Linked DNA regions of Homo sapiens: region 1 is linked to region 2. The links are contacts of gene promoters, found by promoter capture Hi-C in human tissues and cell types (Jung and others, 2019). All regions are on one chromosome and are shown on one strand. The core of a region is centred on a gene start or on the middle of the fragment in contact, and the rest is flanking DNA. Distances in the headings are between cores, read along the strand shown.

Region 1 (5,248 bases), core at 1,385-3,884, 950 kb after region 2:
AAGAACAGGAATAAGAAGGCCCGGCCTGGCCGTGGGTTGCTGGGTGAAAAGCAGCATTGCATTCGAAATGTTAGTTCATTGCAATAAATGGGTTCAGCTCCTCTTTGGAAATATTACTATAGCACAAAGTACTTTATGAAAGCCTTTTTAAAAATCAGATATTATCAGATAGTTGGTTAAAGAGCTGATTAGCTTATCAAAATGTCTGCCTATAGACGAGGAACTTGGGGCGCTCAGCACAGAGACCCCCATACCTTTTCCTGTGTGCCCACAGAGTAAGCGTTCTGAGGGCCGAGGGGAAGAGGCGACATGCAAGTTCCCACGGAGAGGAAGAATTGTTAATGGCAAAAGAATCCCAATGGAAGGTAAATTCCCTCTGATATTACACCGTGAGTCTCTGAGAAGCAACACCAGGCTTTAATAGACAAACGCGGTATTTCCTCCTGATTATTTAATTGGCACGGGAGAGCCACGCAGGTTACGAATTTGTAAGAAAACCCCAGCGGGCCCTGTTTCTGATCCCTTGGGAGGCATTCATTTAAGAAAACTTGTATTTTCTGTGTGCCCCAACTTGCACGGGGGGCGCCAACAAGCTCTGGGAACAGATGGGATTTCAGAAGCCGGGCCTCAGCGCCAACCGCGGGCTGCTGGCTCCCTCTGCTGTCCGAGTCCTCACTTGCGTTCAAGTGAAAGAGCGCGTTTCCCTCCTGATTCTGTGCCAGGAGAAATCCTGAAGGCAAGAAGACTGGGCTCAGAGCCAGGGGCCCTCCCGGGATTTGATAGCTCCTATTTTGATTTGAGCAGGACCTGCAGCCTTGTCAGTGTCTGAGCTCATGGGTAAGGTTGGGAGTAACCATTCACTGGCCAAGTGGTACCCCCCACCCCTGGGGAGGAGGAGAACAATTTCTTTCAAGGACTTTTCTGGGTACCCGGCGTGGGGAGTAAAGAGGGAGTCTCTGGAAGCAAAAGGAATCCTGAGAGGCCTGGGCAAATGACACTGGCTTTGCTTGAACCTGGAAGGCCAGATGGAGGAAAAAGAACTTCTGTTGCTGGGCGCGGTGCCTCATGCCTGTAATCCCAGCACTTTGGAGGCCGAGGCGGGTGAATCACTTGAGGTCAGGAGTTCAAGACCAGCCTGGCCAACATGGCGAAACTCTCTCTCTACTAAAATACAAAAATTAGCCTGGCGTGGTGGTGGGCGCCTGTAATCCTAGCTACCCGGGAGGTTGAGGCAGGAGAATTGTTTGAACCCAGAAGGTGGAGGTTGCAGTGAGCCAAGATTGCGCCACTGCACTCTAGCCTGGATGACAAAGTGAGACTCCGTCTCAAAAAAAAAAAAAAAAAAAACTATATATATATATATATATATATATATATATATATATATATATATATGTATATTCTGTTGATGGTTCGCATTGTTTTCTGCCCAGAATCCCCACTGTCCTCTCCTCAGGCTGATGGCAAAACTTCTCCCACCCAGATGACCTCCCTCCACCAACACCTGAGAGGCCCTCAGGCGATCTGATGCGAGGCCAGGCCGCTGGGGGCCTCCGGCAGGGACAGTCCGCAGAAGGAGGAAGGCAGATGGCAGAAGCGGCAGTGCTGTCCGGTAGGGAAGGCCCCGACGTCCGCCCTTCCCCAGACCGTGGGCTCCCCTCGCTTCCAGGGGTGGAGGAGAGAAGAGCTGGAGAAACGTGCCACGACTCAAACAAATTTACTTCCGTGGTGGATTCTGATTTTTTTGAACAAAATGAGGTGAGAAATGTCACATTTCTTTCTTCCTGCTTCAAGTCAAATCTAATCTGGCGAGGCTGGAATACAATTCTTTTCATGACAGAGGCTCTCTTCTTCCCTCTCGGGGTCCTATCGGGGTCCTATCAAGGTCCCGGGGTGCGGGCAGGAGAGGCCTCTGGTTTCTGGTTGCCACTGGCTGGTTTACAGACCCCTCGTCCTCACCCCCCTGGTCCTCAATGCCCTCCTGTTGAGCCAGGGCGTGGAGGTCACTGCACAGGCTGGGCCCGCCTCCCCTGCTGAGTTCAAGCGGTTATTCCCCTGAGGCCCTGCCGCATCGCTGGGACTGCTCAGAAGCTGGAGACACCAGTCACCTTTCTGAGCGTGGGAAGCTCTCACATTCCATTCTAGTCTTCCTGCCTCCTGAGCCCAGCCCTAGGCAGGCTCATCCCAGAGAAATGGGCCCTCACAGTGCCACCCTTAAACCTGGACAAGAGGGGCACCGTGTCCCTCTTATGGGACCTGCATATCCCCAGGGGGCACAATGTGTGAAAGAATGCCTAGCGCTTCTGTCACTGAGATGTGGCCCCTAGAGCTGGCACAGGGTCACCTGTAACCCTAAACAGATGCTGTCCTCAGGAACACTGTTCAGGCCTCAGAGAAATTGCCTTTTCGTCCCCACCCCCCTTTTTTGAGAGAAAGGGTCTCACTCTGTTACCCCGGCTGGAGTGCAGTGGCACAATCACGATTCCCTGCAGCCTCGACTTCCTGGGCTCAATCGATCCTCCTGCCTCAGCCCCACAAGTAGCTGGGACTACAGGCGCGTGCTACCACACCCGGCTACTTTTTGTATTTTTAGTAGAAATGGGGTTTCATCATGTTGGCCAAGCTGGTATTGAACTCCTGGTCTTAAGAGATCCGACTGCCTTGGCCTCCCAAAGTGCCGGGATTACAGGCATGGGCCACAAAGCCTGGCCTGAAATTGCCTTTCTTATCTTTCACCCTGTGTCTTCCAAACAGAAGGTGGCTGTGACAGAGTGGCTTGAAAGTTTAGAGGCTCCCAGAGCGGCTTGAAAGTTTAGAGGCTCTTCTGCTCAGAAACGTGGAAAGGATTTAAATATTAGAAGTGCCTAGGGCGGAGGGAAGACAGATTAATTCACTTGTCAAATACTTTCTTCCAGCATCAAAGCTCAACAAAGTGTTGCTTCTCAATAGTACTGAGTCCTTTCTCTTGCTTCTCTTTGTGTTCTAATTCATGGTTTCAGTTCTTTGATATTCACAACAGGTACGCATGGTGGCTGAAGGGTGCTTTGTGATATTAAACAATACGTATTCCTCTTAAATGTGTGTATGTAAAGGCTAGAGGTAACATGTTTGAAGCGAAATGTCGATTCTTTATATTGTTAACTCTATAGAAAATGACCAGTAGAATTTAAATAGTGCTATTTTTATAAAAATGTTTAAGATTTAATCTAAATTCAAAATATCAAATAAAAATTTCAGCTTTTAAAAAAGCTTGATTTACTTTGTTGTTTAAATTTTGTCTTTTATTTTCATTAAAAAATCTTTTGATTTTTTTTATTTTAAATAATAGAGGCAGGGTCTCACCATGTTGTCTAGGCTGGTCTTGAACTCCTGGACTCAAGTGATCCTCCCACCTTGGCCTCCCAAAGTGCTGGGAGTACAGATATGAGCCACGTTGCCAGGTCTGTCTTTTAATTTAAAATGTGTGGCTGGGCACAGTGACTCACACCTATAATCCCAGCACTTTGGGAGGCCCAAGTGGGTGGATCATTTGAGATCAGGAGTTCGAGACCAGCCTGGCCAACATGGTGAAACCTCATGTCTACTAAAAATACAAAAATTAGCTGGGTATGGTGGCGCATGCCTGTAATCTCAGCTCCTTTGAAGACTGAGTTGGGAGAATCGCTTTAACCCGGGAGGTGGAGGTTGCAGTGAGCCAAGATCACGCCACTGTACTCCAGCCTGGGTGAGAGAGCAAGACTCCATCTAAAAAAAAATAAAATAAAATGTGTGACTACTTGAGAGAAAAAATTTTTTGAAAACATAATTTTAATATTTTAATTTTTACATTTATGGCAATTCATGTTTTTGATTAGTACATTTTAAAATTGTATTCATTCAGAATACAGTTGCATTGAATTTTTTTAGGTCCTGGATAATATGTGAATAAGTCAAAATAATAAAAATAGAAAATATGGCAGTGGAGCTCTGAAAATAAAAAAGATTGAAAAGAGAAAAGAAAGAAAATCTTCAGAGAAATGGACTGCATGCTTTTTTTTTTTTTTTTTTTTTTTTTTTTAGGCGGAGTCTCGCTTTGTCACCCAGGCTGGAGTGCAGTGGCGCGATCTCAGCTCACTGCAACCTTCACTTCCCAGGTTCAAGAGATTCTCCTGCCTTAGCCTCCCAAGTAGCTGGGATTACAGGTGCCCGCCACCACGCCCAGCTATTTTTTTTTTTTTGTATTTTTAGTAGAGACCGGGTTTCACCATGTTAGCCAGGATGATCTTGAACTCCTTACCTTGTGATCCGCACACCTCAGCCTCCCAAAGTGCTGGGATTACAGGCGTGAACCACTGCGCCCAGCTGACTGCATACATTTTTAACAAGTGGAAACACTAATAAAAGTGAGCAGGCTTGCATATCAAAAAAGCACTCACACCATTACTAAACTGACAAAGGAAGACTTGATAAACAGCCAAGGTCAAAGGTTTCAACAAAGACAAGGAAATAGGTGTGAAGGCCTGAAATAATATTATGTGTTCAATGTTTAGCTAAGTAAGTGATGTTTTTGATGATAACCACAGATTATTTACAGAATATTTACAGAAAACAAGGAATAATCTTAAAACTTACTAGAAATAATTTTGAAATTTGATGCGAAAATGGCTGAAACAGGCTGAAAATTAAAGAAATAGTCCCTTTCCAGAATGGAGAATTCAGAACAAGATTGTTATGAGTAATACAGTGAGAAAAGAAATCATGCATATAATATATCCAAATCAACTAGATCATTCTAGAGATAAAAGACACATTGAATCACTAACATGTATTATGTATACATCACTGAACTACCAGAAGAAAACAAGGGCATTGAAAATAGTGAAGGTAGTTAATTGGTTTTACAAATATTGTAAAAAATATTTTTAAGTGAAGAACTAAAAAACATCTCAACTTTGGGTGTTGATTTAAAGCAGAGGTGTTTATATAGAGGGCTAAATAGTAAGCATTTTGGTCTTCACAAGCTGGACTGAGCCTTCAGTCTTTCTGGCTATTTCAGGCATAAAGAAGAGGTCCCAGGATAATACCAGGGTCAGCCTATTCCAGACAGAAAACTTCAGGAAATGCTGAAAAGATCACAGTATCCTTAGCCCAGGATGCTGGGGGGGTTCCTGTTCACAACGGTGCTATTCTAAGGGACTTCTGCCAACTTAGAGACCGAATCTAAATTTCTCAACATCGTGTTTACTGCCTGCCACTAAAAGAACAAATT
Region 2 (5,052 bases), core at 2,269-4,768:
TAATATGAAACTAAAGCTGAACAGTATTGCTTGACTTAATGTCTTCTATTCATGGTCCAGAATGCAACGTCACAACACATGCTCAGAGGAGAAGTTCAAAAGGGTAACTCTGGCGATGAAGTGTCAGTGGCTCAATTTCATTCCAAGTCTTCGGAGACAAGGTTTGTCAATCGTCTTCACTTTCCGAGTGACACAAACTGATCTGGTAGAGCACATAGACTTCAATGACCGCCCATGTTCACCCTCTGATGAACCAAGGCACTGCACTGAAGTTTTATATTTACATACTTAATCTCCCTCATGTAACTTATAAGCAACTTCTGATCTTATCACTTCTTTATGTCCTGGTACTTAACACAGTGTACAGTATCTATCACTCACTAGGTACTCAATAATTAGTTTTTGACTGAAACTAAATTTTCTGAATTATCAAAAATTAATTCTAGTCAAGATCAGAACTCCTAGTGAGGCCAAATAAAAGAACGTGTCAGGTCTTTCAAATGCCATATTCTTCAAGTTAATTCTTTCCATTAGAACAAGTTACTTCCTACTTTCTCAACATCTGGGTTCCAGATTTAGGAATCCACTCTATCCAAGATAACTTGTATGACAATGAAGATAAGTCCTGGCCACCAAATGAAAAAGTAGCACGCTGTTGCCATGCCTAGCTCTGTGGACAGTTTTTCAGCCTAAGTCATACTGACTCTTGACTGCTCTAGCAGCCAGAGCACAAGATATTGAAGAAACCGAGTTCCTGATCACGAACCTCACCTAGCTCTTCTGCTTTGACATTAGCTGTCCCTGAAAACAAAATCACAAAACTTCACCCACAGAATCAAAATCTGACTTATGTTTAAAATGACACTGTTTTCTAACATGCCAGGCTATTCATATTTCTTCCAATATATGACCAAGTTCATTTTCAACACTTTCAAAACACTATGCCAGGATGCTTAGCCTTAAGGCTACCAAACTAGTCCCAAAAAGATGTAGTATCTGGAAACAATTTAAAGTAATTTGCTACCTCCAGGCATTTTAAAGATCAAAATGAAGAAAAATGAAGTTTTAAACTGAATGAGAGGGAGAGGGGGAACCTAAAGATTTGAACATCGATTTGATAGTCAAAACACCAACAGAAAAAGAAGAGCAGAAAAACAAGCGAAGAGGCTATGATTTTGATATTATGTGCTAGTTTTTAAAAAACATCTAAAGATAGGCCAGACACGGTGGCTCACGCCTGTAATCCAACACTTTGGAAGGCCGAGGCGTGCGGATCACTTGAGGTCAGGAGTTCGAGACCAGTTTGGCCAATATGGTGAACCTCATCTCTACTAAAAATGCAAAAATTAGCCAGGCATGGTGGCGGGCGCCTGTAATCCCAGCTACTCAGGAGGCTGAGGCAGGAGAATTGCTTGAACCCGGGAGGCAGAGGTTGCAGTGAGCTGAGATTGCACCACTGAACTCCAACCTGGGAGACAACGAGACTGTCTCAAAAAAACAAAAAAACTCAAGATTAAAGTAACACAATTGCTGGGGTAAAAAATAACTTACAGAGCCAAAAACGTAACTGTTACAAAGGAAATCTTAATATTTAAATATTTAAAGTTGGTCCTTGCTAATGACGTTTTAAAAAATCAACTAAGATGAAAGTATACAAAATAAGGAATAAACAGTAATTAATACATATTAACAATACCTTTTTAACAGATAAGAGATTATGGAAACTCTCAAATACAAAATAGTGTAAACTGCACTAAAGAGATATTTACATGTTTTTTTCTGAAATAAACTAGTATGATTAAGGGATTGTGATGGCAATTTAACTCCCTTGAAAAAAAAAGAAGATTTCATTATAGGGTATGAAATATGGGGCTCCTGGAAAATTGACGGAAACCAGGACACTGGGAGAAAGGCCCTGGGAGGGACCCCTGAGCATGGTCCCCCTGAGATTTGACCAGTTCCAAAGATAGGCAAGGATCTAGAATGAGAAGAAAGAAGAAAATGTATTTCCCAAACAGCCTCACTGTCAAAGGACTGGGATTCAGCCACTGTACCTTGCAATCCTGATCTCCCATGGGGGAACGACATACTTTTTCCTCTCTAATCATCACTTGTCTCACCCCCACTCTCAACACACACATCCCTCTTAGCACATTAATCAGTGAGACTCCTAAAGGTACAACTTCTGAGATATAAGAAATAGGATCCAAGAAATCAACCCGACATTTTACAGGCAACTGAGCCTTGAGTTCACACATGCTTCCGGGACTTGTGAGCCAGCTCAGCCCTGCGGAGACACCCCCATCTCTTTGAAAGCAAATGCCTTTAGGAGGCGGGGACAGGCGTTAGAAGAGGTGGTGGCAAGGTCCCTGATTTGGGGACTAAGGCTAGGACACTAACCACCATCTTGCCATAAACACTTCCAGATTGGGAATGGGGGGCGGCGGGGGGGTGGGTAAGAGAAGGGACTGGGAAACTGGCAAATTCTCAGACTGGGACTTCAGGATGTGGAAATCGGGAGCCACTGCTGAGGTGGCCAACTGAAGGTGAAGAAGCCCAAGCGTCTGAAGTGCGGGCAGGGCCTGAGGCGTCTCGAGCTTATCCAGCAAGCAAAGCCCGGGCAGCCTAAGCGCGCGCCACCCACACCCAGGTCAATCGTCCTCCCCACCCCCCGCCCTCATCCCAGCCCTCGCGCAGTGCTCCCCCCTTCCCCGACCGCCCCCCAGGCCTCCGTCATTCCCCCTCCCCGCCCGGCCCCGCCTTCGCCTTACACTGAATGGGCGGGTAGCAACTGGGGTCCTCGCCGCCGGGCTGGCAGCGGCTGGAGAAGGCGCTGCGCGGGGTCACGTAGTTGCTGGGGAAGATGCCCACCCGCTGGTTCAGCTGCCCGGTCCACCAGCCCTCGTCGCCGGACACCTGCGAGTCCTTGGACAGCACCTCCACCACGTCGCCCAGCCGCAGGGTCAGCTCGTCCTCGCCCGCCGCCTCGTACTCGAACACGGCCGTCCAGTAGGGCAGCGGCGCGTCGCAGCCCAGCTCCCCGGGGCCCACCGCCGCCGCCGCCTCCTCCTCCTCCTCCTCCTCCTCCTCGGCCCCGGCCCCTGCTCCATCCTCCCCCGGCGGGGCGGCAGCGGCGGCGCTCGCTAGGCAGCCGAGAAGCGCTCTGGAGGGCTCCATGGAGCGGCCGATCCATAGGGTGCGGGGCCGCCGCCGCCCGCAGGAGCCGCCGCCGCCTATTGTTCATGCGCCTCCGCAGAGCTGGGAGGACCCCCCCCCAACGACGGCGGCCGCAGGTAGGGCCCGGGCTGGCAGGGCTGGGAGAGCCGGCTCGCCGGCGCTGTTACCGCGGTACGAGAAGAGCGCCGAGCGCGAGCTCTTCGCGCAGCCTAGGGGCGCAGCGGGCCGAGTCCCCGCCTGCCCGCTCGCCCCCCCGGGGGCGGCCTCGTCACCTCTGCCGCCGGTACCTGCTCGCGCAGCCGGTGCCCGCCGCTGCCAGCCGGCCGCCGCTCTCCTCTCCGCGCCGTGCCGTGCCCCGCCCCCCGCACCGCCAGCTCGCCGGGACCACCTGACGCGGGCCTGGCTCCGCCCCAGCCCTGCGGACCCCAGGGGGCTCCGCCCCACGCCCGCCCCGCCCCGCGCCCGCTGCCTTCCCATTGGCTGCGGCCGCCCAGTCCCCGGTTCCTCCGCCGTGGTTGGGGCAGCCTAGCTGGCCGTCTCGCAGGTCCCTCTCACCCCCTGCGCCGCCGTCGCACCGTGCCCTCCCCCATTGCGGGCTCTGTCATTCTCAAACCCAGGTCGACCCACTCTTCCCGCCCACTGGCCCGCCGCAGCTCCCTCCATTGGCTCGCGGCACCTGTCCGTTTCCTGGGAGAGTTCAGCACCTCCCGGCAGGAAGAGGCTCCGGCCTCATTGGGTGCGTGAGAAGGGAAGGGTGGATCCTAAAAGGTAATACTGAGCCTTCATTCAAACTAAAAGGCTGGAAGGGAGGCAGCTGCCTTTGTTTGCCATGGATGGGTAGGGGCTGCACTGAGCAGCACCGGTGTTCTTCATCCGGCTGCACCCCCAACAGAGCTCTTTCTTCCCCAGATCCCTTTTACAGTTGGATTCTCCCTCTTGGATCTGGCTCTGCCTTAGTCCGACCTAGAGGGATCAGCTTCGCCCACGCCCACTCTCACCCGGAACCTTTCATCTCTTATTGAAGCCTTTTAGGCCCATTGGGATGTTCATTAGAACTCTGAAAACTACAGTTCTCCCCTTTATGAGGACTGCACCACAGCTCGCCCTCTCCTGGGTTCCGGTAAGAAGAGATTCCAATACCACTCTTTTTTCAGAATTCAGAAAGGCAAGAGACCACCTTACTGAGCTTCAAACTGGGGCTGGGAACGCTGCCATGAATTGGGCTTGGTCTGTCTGAAGGGAGCCACCTTTTCGACAATCCTTAGACTTCTTTTGCCTGTTGGAATTACACCTTGGATCGTGGCGAAGTCTATAGAGGTCAGATTAAGAAGAACCAAAGCAGAATAAACGTAGAACCCGATGCTGAGTTCACGAGTGAGGACGACCTCTTCCTATATGCTTTGCTATACCCTGCGTTTTGAACATTAAGGACGAGATAGGAGGCCCATAATGTTTCTTCTTGCTTTAATCCTGTCGTGGCAACGTTGACTTCCAGTAAGAAAGGTTCTCTGATCTTTTTTTCTCTTTTCTTTTCTTTTCTTTTCTTTTCCTTTCTTTTCTTTTCTTTTCTTCCAGGGTCTCAGTTTGTTGTCCAGGCCAGAGTGCAGTGGCGCAATCTCGGCTCACTGCAGCCTCAACATCCTAGGCTCAAGCCATCCTCCCACCTCACCCTCCCGAGTAGCTGGAAGTACAGGCTCGTCTTGAACTCTGGGCTGAAGTCATCCACCTGCCTCGGCCTCCCAAAGTGCTAGGATTACAGGCCTTAGCCACCTCACCTAGTCCTCTGAAATTTCTAAATAAGCCAGTGCTGAAGGATCTAGCCCAACTTCTACCAAACTTTGTTACCTTTTCCCCTTCAGTGGTAGGAATAGACAT

Evidence for each region. The method cuts DNA at HindIII sites, captures the fragments that hold promoters and counts their contacts. A contact is called where the count stands out against the background at its distance.
Region 1: a contact is called between a fragment that was not itself captured here and the fragment with the promoter of MAP3K9 in region 2, in 1 of the 25 tissues and cell types used here (lymphoblastoid cells).

What each region holds. Positions count from the first base shown.
Region 1 is chr14:71,752,592-71,757,839 of GRCh38, forward strand. No RefSeq gene overlaps it. Among named protein-coding and RNA genes, the nearest start is that of RGS6, 180 kb to the right of the region's middle. RefSeq lists an enhancer at 1,404-2,318. The HindIII fragment of the contact is 7,023 bases long and covers 1-5,248 here.
Region 2 is chr14:70,805,995-70,811,046 of GRCh38, forward strand. It overlaps MAP3K9 (mitogen-activated protein kinase kinase kinase 9), which reads right to left and starts at 3,519. Exons shown (of 12, transcript NM_001284230.2): 1 at 2,772-3,519. The coding sequence starts at 3,177. It overlaps MAP3K9-DT (MAP3K9 divergent transcript), which reads left to right and starts at 2,790. Exons shown (of 2, transcript NR_184164.1): 1 at 2,790-3,293. RefSeq lists an enhancer at 2,081-2,140 and a silencer at 3,081-3,720. The HindIII fragment of the contact is 18,119 bases long and covers 1-5,052 here.